Linked DNA regions of Homo sapiens: region 2 is linked to region 1. The links are contacts of gene promoters, found by promoter capture Hi-C in blood cells and fetal thymus (Javierre and others, 2016). All regions are on one chromosome and are shown on one strand. Each heading gives the region's core, a stretch centred on a gene start or on the middle of the fragment in contact. The rest is flanking DNA. Distances are from core to core; before and after follow the strand shown. Region 1 holds the start of DERL1 (derlin 1). Region 2 has its middle 12 kb from the start of SNTB1.

What was found. Contacts are between HindIII fragments. The CHiCAGO score rates a contact against its expected background, and 5 or more counts as called.
Region 2: a fragment that was not itself captured here is called in contact with the fragment with the promoter of DERL1 in region 1 in 1 of 17 cell types (M0 macrophages); the score reaches 5.1 in M0 macrophages.

What each region holds. Positions count from the first base shown.
Region 1 is chr8:123,039,215-123,044,269 of GRCh38, reverse strand. It overlaps DERL1 (derlin 1), which reads left to right and starts at 1,968. Exons shown (of 8, transcript NM_024295.6): 1 at 1,968-2,300. The coding sequence starts at 2,148. RefSeq lists an enhancer at 2,019-2,558. The HindIII fragment of the contact is 6,787 bases long and covers 589-5,055 here.
Region 2 is chr8:120,820,692-120,826,457 of GRCh38, reverse strand. No RefSeq gene overlaps it. Among named protein-coding and RNA genes, the nearest start is that of SNTB1, 12 kb to the right of the region's middle. The HindIII fragment of the contact is 1,221 bases long and covers 1,472-2,692 here.

The sequences.
Region 1 (5,055 bases), core at 719-3,218:
AAAAAGAAATAAACACTGCCAGATATTGGGTGTACATTTTTCTTGTTCTTGTCTTTTCTCATGCACGTGTACTTTTAAGTTTATCAGAGAAACTTTCCTTAGCCCTCCACCTAAGCCAGATAACCCCTGTTTTCTTTCACTGTACCTTGGTTATGAGTAGTGGGTACAAAACAATGGTGGTGGTAGTAGAGGGAAATAAACAGAATAAACCTCAGGCAATATCGTCAAGTATTATCTGTTATTTATATAAATATCTAGCTTTTATATCAAAATTATCTTTTTGTAAGGCTGTATCAATTTATATTCCCACCAGCTGTGTTCTTCGTAGATTTGCTATCCATTGGTTCCCAAATGTTGTATACTCTCATTACACTGTGGAATATTTAATGCCTTTTTGTTATGAAAAAACTGTTTTTATTAATTAACATCAAGGATATGGTGCTGACAAATATTCTCTAAAATTATGGAATGTTGGAAACTCTGCTGTCTGACATCCTTTCCGTGTGAATGGAACATCCCATTCTTGTCCAGAGCATCTGAGCCATACAGGTCACTTTGACACAGGATTTTCAATACAGGTACAAAGCTTTAGATAGAGTTTTCAGACCCAACGTTTCACATTTGTCGTAATTTTGAGATTTCCAAGGAAAGAGCCTGCTTCCTACTCAGGTCTGATGTTAACCTGATGCTGCACACAGCTCTGCTTTGCTTCGAGTCTATCAAACACTGCTCCAGTTAATTCTTACCAAAAAATCCCCCCATTCCCATAACCCAATAATGACACTTCCGTTTGATGAGAGGCATTGAGGTTCCTCTGGAGTGCAGTCTCCCTTGCTGCAGCAAGTTAATAAATCTAACTTTGTTGACTACAGGTTTGTTCCTGGTGCTCTTTATTGGAAGACTTTAGCAATCTTAAACTGCTGGCCCCAAATCCCAAAACAACGGGAAACTCTACTCAGTATCTTTTCTTTTTTTCTTTTTTTTGAGATGGAGTCTGGCTCTTGTCCCCCAGGCTGGAGTGCAATGGTGCAATCTCGGCTCGCTGTAACCTCCACCTCCCGGGTTCAAGCGATTCTCCTGCCTCAGCCTCCCAAGTAGCTGGGACTACAGGCGCCCTCCACCATGCCCGGCTAATTTTTGTATTTTTAGTAGAGACGGGGTTTCATCATGTTGGCCAGGCTGGTCTCGAACTCCTGACCTCGTGATCCGCCCGCCTCGGCCTCCCAAAGTGCTGGGATTACAGGCGTGAGCCACCGCGCCTGGCCAGTATCTTTTCTTAAAGATTCCTTCTTATACAAGTTGAATTAGACAAGATGGATCATTTTGGCTTTTAGTTCCTCCAACATTCCAACCTAGTTAGAGCGGCTTTTCTCTGTGCATGGAAAATTCTTCCCCCAGATCTCTTGCCTGGCTGGCCCAGTTCATACCTAAGGTAGCCATCTGTCCTCACACTGCCGCACCCCCACCCCGTCACTCCACCTCATCATCTCATTTCATTTTCCTATTTTTCTAATCACTCTCTGAGATTATCTTACTTCATTATCTATTTGTTTATAAATTATCCCAATGAGGATGTTAAGATCAGGAGAGAGGGTACCACGACAGCGCTGACAGCCGCAGCTGCCCAGTGTCTAGAACTGTGCCCAACAAACACTTGTGGAATGAGTAAGCAGACGAGGAACTAGACACTTCGTTTGCCTTCGTCCCCTTTAAATACCCTCCAGGTGGACCCAGCCGCATTAAAACTCTGAGAACTAGGTGAATGGCATTTGGCCTCGCCACTGGCCGGAGCGTTTGCCGTTGATCCAGGCAACCACTGTTTTCCCACCAGTCGTGTAGTCGCTCTACCTGGCTCCGCCCCCCAGGACGCCGAGCCTCGGCCGGGCGGTAAAATCGGCGCTTACCCTTTAAGCGGCGGGACTTCTGGTCACGTCGTCCGCGGTCGCCGGAAGGGGAAGTTTCGCCTCAGAAGGCTGCCTCGCTGGTCCGAATTCGGTGGCGCCACGTCCGCCCGTCTCCGCCTTCTGCATCGCGGCTTCGGCGGCTTCCACCTAGACACCTAACAGTCGCGGAGCCGGCCGCGTCGTGAGGGGGTCGGCACGGGGAGTCGGGCGGTCTTGTGCATCTTGGCTACCTGTGGGTCGAAGATGTCGGACATCGGAGACTGGTTCAGGAGCATCCCGGCGATCACGCGCTATTGGTTCGCCGCCACCGTCGCCGTGCCCTTGGTCGGCAAACTCGGCCTCATCAGCCCGGCCTACCTCTTCCTCTGGCCCGAAGCCTTCCTTTATCGCTTTCAGGTACTTACCGGAGACGGGGGGCGTGGAGACTACAGGCCCCAGGAGGCCCAGCGGCGGCTAAGCGTAGGCTGGCATGTTGCGGGCGCGCGGTGCCTGCTGGGATTTGTAGTGGGTCCGGCGCCGGCGGTTTAGGGCGGGGTCCTTTGGGCCCGGGGAGGCTCTGGGATCTGGAGCGGGGTGCTGGATAGCTGGAGTTGTGGGCTGGCCTGGTGGGGAGGGGTTGACTTCACTGGTATAGTGAGATTGTGCTTCCCGCTCTTCGCACTCAGTGAAGGAAGCAGTGAGATTAGTCGTTGGTAGTTGTCAATCTGTTGGACGCTGGCGATTAGGTCCGCCTGGAGCATTGCCCTCTGACCTCCCTCTGTCACCCACGTGGGTGGCCTGTAGGTGTCAACTTCACCAACTTATAGCTGAGTTCCTTTCACGTTTATGGAGTTTTTTTGTTTTGGTTTTCCTATAGGAGTGATTTAAAGTCAGAGATACAAAGAACGAGTGTATTGTTCTGCATTTCCCTCTAGACCTAATTTAGTGTCCCCCACGTAGTAATAGAATGTACGAAGGAATGGGCAAAGAGTACATTTGTCCAGAAATGGAAGGCCTTGTTATTTTCTTAAGCATGAAGGAAACAGTCCAGAGTAACATTTCTGTCAAGAGAGTGCCAGTTTTCTGAAGGTTATCTGTATTCACCAATTTCTGATTTAAAACTTCAATCAGTGGCAGGTCAGATAGCAAGATCTGGCATTAATTTCAGCCCTTTACTTGGCCTATGGATAACATTTTCTTGTCTTTCCCTGTCTTCACTGGGTGTTACTTCTTGGTTTCCTTTGCTGGTTCCTTATCTTCCTGACTTTTAAATGTTAGGATGTGCCTTGGGAATCAGTTATAGGACCTTTTCTATAGACTCTCCCTAGCTTTAGGTGGTCTCATTCATTCAGCCTCAGGGCTTTACATACTTTCTATAAACTGGAGATTCTGAAATATAAATATAAATATCTTCAGTCCAGATCTGTCTCCCTATTTCCAGATTTGTGCATCCAGCAGTTACTTGAAATCACGACTTGGATGACTAAGAGTCATCTTCATCTTAACGTGTCCAAAACTGAATCCCCTTTCCCCCTTTGCCTTAGAAGTGAATAGCAACTCCGTTATTAGAGGAGCTGAAGTTAATTGTCGGAGTCATCTTTTATTTTTCTTGTTTTTCTCACACCCCACAATCTGTCAGCAAATCCTATTGACTCTACTTGAGACATATATCCAGAATACAATCCCTTTTCATTCTCCATTGCAAGCCATTATCACTGCAATCTGGTTCCTTTCCATCTTTTCTCTAGACAGCTAGAGTGATCCTTTTAAAACCTACATCAAGTCCTGTCTTTCCTCTGTCCAGAATCCTACCATGTCTTCTTAATGAGTAAAATCCAAGTCCTTTCAGTGGCCTGCAAGGCCCCTGCTGCTTCTCTGACCTCATCTCCTACTACTCTCCAACTTGTACCTTAGGCTCCACAATGAGATCCTTGCTGTTACTTCAGTGCTTATCTGGATCTCTCCTCAGGGCCTTTGCACATGTTGTTTCTCTGCCTGAGGAAGATAACCGTGGCTCAGTTGTTTACCTCCTAACCTTCTTCAGATCTCTGCCCAAATGCCGTCTTGTTGACAAGGCCTTCTCTGATGGCCGTACATAAAATAGCCCGTCCTTCACTCCACTCCCTTATCCCTTATCCTTCATTTTTCTTTCTTTCTTTCTTTTTTTTGGAGACGGAGTCTCGCTCTGTTGCCCAGGCTGGAGTGTATATGGCGCAATCTTGGTTCACTGCAACCTCTGTCTCCTGGGTTCAAGCAGTTCTCCTGTCTCAGCCTCCCAAGTAGCTGGAATTACAGGTGCACACCACCATGCCCAGCTAATTTTTGTATTTTAGTAGAGACGGGGTTTCGCCATGTTGGCCAGACTGGTCTTGAACTCCTGACCTCAGGTGATCCACCCGCCTCAGCCTCCCAAAGTGCTGGGATTAGAGGCGTGAGCCACTGAGCCTGGCCTTATCCTTCATTTTTCTTGCTACATATTACCCTTTGGTATTTATTAGTCTGCTTCCCCTCAGAGAATAAGGCTCCATGAGAGCCGTTCACCACTGTCCTTGTTACCTGGAATAGTGCCTGGGACGTAGTAGGTGCTTATATATTAACTGAGTTGTTGGAAGTAATTGGGCACTTGCTGTGTGCTGGGCACTGGGGTACAATAGTAAATAGGACTGAAAAGGTTTCAGAGCCTGTGAAGACATAGAGGCACGTGTTTTAAGGGGTGTAATATTTGATAGGGTGTTCCACCCAGAAAGGCCTCAGAGAAGACATTTGAAGAAATTGGAATACTGAGGAGCCAGCCAGCCAGCTTTGGGTAGATCTGGCTCTGGAGACAACCTTCCAGGAAGGACTAGTAAGTGAAAGGCTCAGAAGTAGGAGCTGGGAACAGGAAGAAGACTGGGTTGCCAGCTGGCACAGGGTCAGCTGTAGGGTGAGGATTAGTAGATGACAGCAGGGAGATAGCCAGGGCTGGGTGTAGTAAAGCTAAGATGGAAAGGTGGGTTAAAGCTAGATCATAGTTGAGCCTTGTAGGTCATGTTAAGAGGTTTGAACTTTATTTTGAGGGCACTATGAAGTCTTTGGAGCCTTGTGAACAAAGGACTGACAGATTGCCCCGACTATTCTGTGGAGTGGACTTTGTGTGTGTATGGAGGGGGTTGAAGGAGGAAGGGCTAGGTGA
Region 2 (5,766 bases), core at 833-3,332, 2.2 Mb after region 1:
GACACATGGGAATTGTGGGAGCTACAGTTCAAGATGAGAGTTGGGTGGGGACATGGCCAAACCAAATCAGGAGAATTCCAGCATCCCTATAGATTAAAGTAAACCCAAACTTCGTCTCTATCCAAGTGCCATTTTTAAAGCTTTTTCCATAATGTTGTTTTGTTTTTTTTACATTTGATTCTACTGCTAGTCTGTGGAAGTCTTCGTCACTTGACAACTGGGAGTTCAGAAAAAGGTGGAAAATTACTATCTGATAGTTGTTTCTTGCCTTTTTGAAAGAACCTAATATAAAAGCAGTTAGTCTCACGTGGAATCATACAGCAGAAAACAAAGTGTCTGCCATCCTTATTTCTGCCGAGCGTTGGAGCACTGGTGCAGGTCAATGGAGCATGCTATGAAGCAGAAGGAAGGCCAATTGGCTCACTGCCAAGAAGCCTCTTTTGCAGGGTTGCAGGGTTGCATTAATTGTATGAGCAGGGGCGGGTGGTCCTTGGAACTCAGGGCCTTCACTCTATCAGAACATGAGACTGGATGACAGTGTTGAGGCAAGACTTGCCCTATGCAAACAGCCTGGAGACTCATACAGAAATCCAGACCTCCAATTCACTTACTTAAATTGGGAGGTACAGATTCATGATCTGAAGACCAAATCCAGTCTGCAAGAGTCTTTTTGGTTTGCTTGCCTTTTATTTTATTTGTGGGGCCAAATGATATTTTTTACAATTTGAGCAATTTTTAAAAATCAATTAAAAGTATATTTCTTGACAATCATAGAAAATTGGAAGATCTGAACCCTGTGCTTTCCTGAATGGCAGCAATTGCTGGCTGGAGCTAAGCAGTGCTGCCCCTTTATGTGAAGTTTGTACTCCCTAGTTTTGCACATCTCTCTCACCATTTCTGATTATTCCCCAAACATGGGGCCATTTGTTATGGTACTTGCATTGTTTTCTTGTAATAGAGACATATCTCTCCTATAGTTATGACTCTATCAAAATTTGGAAAACTGAATAGAAGGCTAGAGGGAAGATTGTTTCAAGAAAATTGAAAGAGGACATGTTTCCTTTTGAAGGCAAAGAATAAACATTCTGGCCAGGTGCAGTGGCTCATGCTTATAAACTCAGCACTTTGGGAGGCCGGGGCAAGCAGATTGCTTGAGTCCAGGCATTTGAGACCAGCCTGGGAAACCTGGCAAAACCCCATCTATACAAAAAATACAAAAAATAGCTGGGCATGGTGGCATGCACCTGTAGTCCTCGGTACTCAAGAGGCTGAGTGGGGAGGATCGCTTGAGCCCAGGAGGTAGAGGCCTCAGTGAGCCGTGATCACACCACTGCACTCTGGCCTGGGTGACAGAATGAGACACTGTCTCAAAAAATATAAATAAATAAATAACAAAATTCTGATATAATCACATATGTGATGTATGTAAATATAATATGTACCTACCGTCATTCTCCTTCGGTTACAAGCTTCCACATTTGCCAAAGAATCATAATAATTTTTGCCTTGAAAGAATTTCAGAACTCACTGGTTTTAAAGGATGTTTTGTGACAAAATCTAAGTTCACTCTAAGTGGATTTTATTGTAGAAAATACAAAACGAAACACTCCCTTAAAAAAAAAGAGAGAATGAAGAAAAGAAAGGAGAGAGAGGAGTAGGAAGGAAGGGATCCCCAATATCCCCAAACAAATTTTTCAGTTGGTTAACTTTCTGGAAAGAAAGTAAAAGGCAGTAAAAGGTTTTGCAATCTTACTGAAATTTCTACTGCAATGTAACACTGATCGGACTTGGGGGCATTGGGGTTGGTGACTAAGAGGAACAGCCACAATTTTTTAACCTTTCAGGAAGCCTAAAGGACAGAATTTAAAGCATAGCCATGTAAGGCTGACAGACTCACTCTTCAGAAGAGAAGTTAATCCTCTTGGGGGCTTCCCTTTAAAAATAATTTTAAAGGCCCTGACTCAGAGAATCAGGAATGTAAAATTTGAGTTTCAATTGACTGAAGCCCAGTGGAAAGGGGACAAGATGTGGACTCTGTCAAACTTAAGTCTGAATTCCAATCCTTCCACTCACACTTAATGTGACCTTGAGCAGGTTTCTTCATCTCTCTGTGTTCCAAGTCTCCATTTATGAAACTGGGATGACTTCTGCTTTACAGAGTTGATATGAGGCTTGCATGAGAAGATATGGCAAACTGGTTAATTGCAGGCCCTCTCAAATGTTGGTTCAGATTCTCTTTTTTATTTCCTTTGTTTATAATTATGATAGCCACCATAGCATAGACTGGAATGTCTATTACATTTATGAGCCATCTAATGACGTTTCAGTCAAGGAAGGACCACATACATGACAGTGATCCCGTACAATTGTGTTATAATTGTCTAACATGCTATACAATTTTGTAGTCTAGGAATTAGTCCATAGCCTAGGTGTGTGGTAGGCTACAGCATCTAGATTTGTTTAAGTACCTTCTATGCTATTTGCACAAGAAATTGCCTAACAATGTATTTCTTAATACATATCCCCATCATTAAGTGATACCTGACTGTATTTGCCAGACTGGCGCCCCTTACCCTAACTTCCAGATTTACCTGCTTTTAAAGTTGCTCCAGTCCTTTTCTAAGCATTTTAAGACATTGGAGCAGGTGTTATTCTTTTTTTGTAAATGGTCAAGTTACAAATATTTTAAGCTTTGCAGGCCTTATGGTCTCTGTCAGGATTACTCAACCCTGCCTGCCATTGTAGCATGAATGGTAGCCATAGACAACATGTAAACGAATGTGTGTGGTTGTGTTCCAATGAAACTTTATGAAATCAAGTAGCTAGTCCATGGAAAATAGTTTGCCAGTCTTTGCACTTTACTATGAAACTTCAGCATCCTGTACACATTGAAACTGTAATGCCTTAGGATAAAAATTTCAGTTTGTTTTAGGAAAGAGAGGGAGGCAAGGGAAAAGGGAGAAAAGAAATAGCTGAAGAATTCAATGTGAATTTATATTCATTACACTATTATTTTAACTAAATATAGAGAAAATAATCTTTCCACTTGTCTTAAGCTATTTACTTTAGGCTGTTTACCACTTATTAGCTCAGTGATCTCAGACATAGTAAGACTAGTTAATATTTATTGATCACTTACTCTAGGTAAGTCCTGTGTCAAGTGCCTTACATGCACGATTTTATTTAATCTTTAAAATAATCCTATGAGATAAAAATAATTTGGAAACACTATTTTAAAGCCAAGTAAATGGAAGCTTAGAAAAGTTACTTTTCCTAGTATTACAGAGTCAGTAAATTAAGTAACTGGAATTTATATCTAGGTAGTTTGACTTCACAGTTGTTCAACCTGAGTTTTATTATACATAAAAATAAATTATCATTCTATATCTTACTGGTTTCTTGGAAAGACTACAACAGAGAAAGTATCTGAAAATACCTGAGTAACAATCATGGGGCACTAAATCAGTTCCTTTCTGTTTTTCTAGTCTACTAAGCATTCACAATTATCCAGCAATATTTTTTTTTAAGAGACAGGGTCTCACTCTGTCACCCAGACTGGAGTGCAGTGGTGTGATCATGGCTAACTGCAGCCTGGACATCTTGGGCTCAAGTGATCCTTTCTACTCAGCCTCCCAAGTAGCTGTGACTACAGGTTTGTGCCACCACACCCAGCTAATGTTTATTTATTTTATTTTATTTTTGTAGAGACAGGGTTTTGCTATGTTGCCCAGGCTGGTCTTGAACTTCTGACCTCAAGTAATCATCCCGCCTTGGCCTCCCAAAATGCTGGGATTACAGACATGAGACAACATGCCCAACCATTTATTAAATATTTGTTGAGTACCCTCTATCTTCTTGGGTTTGACTGATCTAGAACCACTGATTCCTTGGTAGAGGAAATTTCAGTGTTGGCTTGGCAAAAGAAATTGTTTCTTTAGCCAAGGATATATGATCCTGAAGAGTCTTTGGCCTTGAGTTTCCATGATGTATCTTCTTAATCTTTCTTAAAATGCTATCTTATCTGCATCAGAATCCTGTTGATAAAATTTACATTTTCAGACACTAAGATCGCAATCATCAGAATGTTTTGAGGTGGGGCTCAGGTTTCTGCATTATTATCCCCAACTCTATTTTGAAAAAAAAAATTTAACCTACAAAAAGTTGAATCATACAGCATAAACCCATTTATTCATTACTAGATTCTCTTACTGCTAATTTTTCCACATTTGGATCTCTTTCTCTTGCTGTTACATCCTCTTTGTTTCTGTCTCTATATTTAAAAGTTAGTTTATAGTTTACCATATTTCCTAGAGAGTTATTTTCTTTCTCCATTTGAAAGTCAGTTATTGACATCATGTCACCCCTAAACACATCAGCACATATACTTTAAGAGCAAAGACATTTCACAACCACAATACTATTATCACACTTAAGAAATTTAATTCACTTTGATGCAATTATATTTTCAAATATAATCTATATTTAAATTTCTTCATCACACACAAAAGTCCTTGTAGTTCCTCTTTGATGATTTAATCCAAGATTTTGCCTTTTATTTGGTATTCATGTTGCTTTAGTTTTCTTTCATTTGAAGCAATTCCACCCTGCTTCTTGTCTTCCATAACTTGACATTTTTGAAGAACCCAAGCCACTTGCTTTTTTGAATATCCCATAGTCTGAATCTGCCTGTTTGCCTGTATTTAGATGGTAGATTAGATCAAGCATCTATGTGGTACTTTGTGCACTTTTACTGGGATATATAAGAACAAAACAAACTGCAAAGAAATTTTGAACTTGTTCGGTAGTTTTGTTGTTGGTATTGCTATTGAAACAATAATTCTGAAACAATTTCCTTTTATACTGTAGAACGCAGAAAACTGAATTAATCTATTGGTATTTTTGAAAACCAAATTTCTCACTTATTGGGAGATACAAATGTGAATAAGGAAAGGTAAGGAAGTACCTTATGATGTTAGGTTTGAATTGGTGATATAAGTATGAACGCCTTCTGTCTTCCTTAGTAGCAATAAGCTTACCTGGTTCCTATGTGACCTTTCTTACTTGTTCTCCAGATCTTGGTTCCTATGTGACCTTTCTTACTAAAAGGAATCAGGGATCTTTAAAGGAATGGCTGATACCAGGACTAGGCAGATAAAATATAAGTTAATCCTGCCAGAAGGCAAAAAACAAACAAACAAAAAATGCTTAAGGACAAAGGGGACCTGTCAAAAGAATATAGGAGTCAGCTTGAAGAGGCTCATAGTGGCCAAATTTTGGATATCAAAACAACAAACAGAATGATAGTAATGAATATGGCACATTAAGGAAGAATCTATGTTGAAGTGAAATGTAAAAACGACGGCAACAAAAATAGCTGTATATGGGAGAAAGCTCTTCATTACAGAAGTATGTCTGCTGATAAATGTAGAAGGAATTATTAGATATGTTACTCACATTTTTAACATGCTCCCCATGTGGTTCTGATTCCCTCCAAAGTTTGGGAACAACTTCTAGATGTTACCTTGAAGCTCTTTAATTCTATAATAGCCATAAAACTTTAAACATAGTTCCTTCCCTGCATAAATAATATTCAACATAAACATATGAAAAACAGAGATTCTAGTTAGCCAATGATAATTTGTTTTCTCCTTTAAATTACTTCTGAAAGCATTTTTCTTCACTCTTCTCTATACTGGTCAGTCTGGCTATTCCTGAAATTTGCCATTCTATTGTAGTATGTTCCTGGGAGAATTCTTTCCCCTCTCT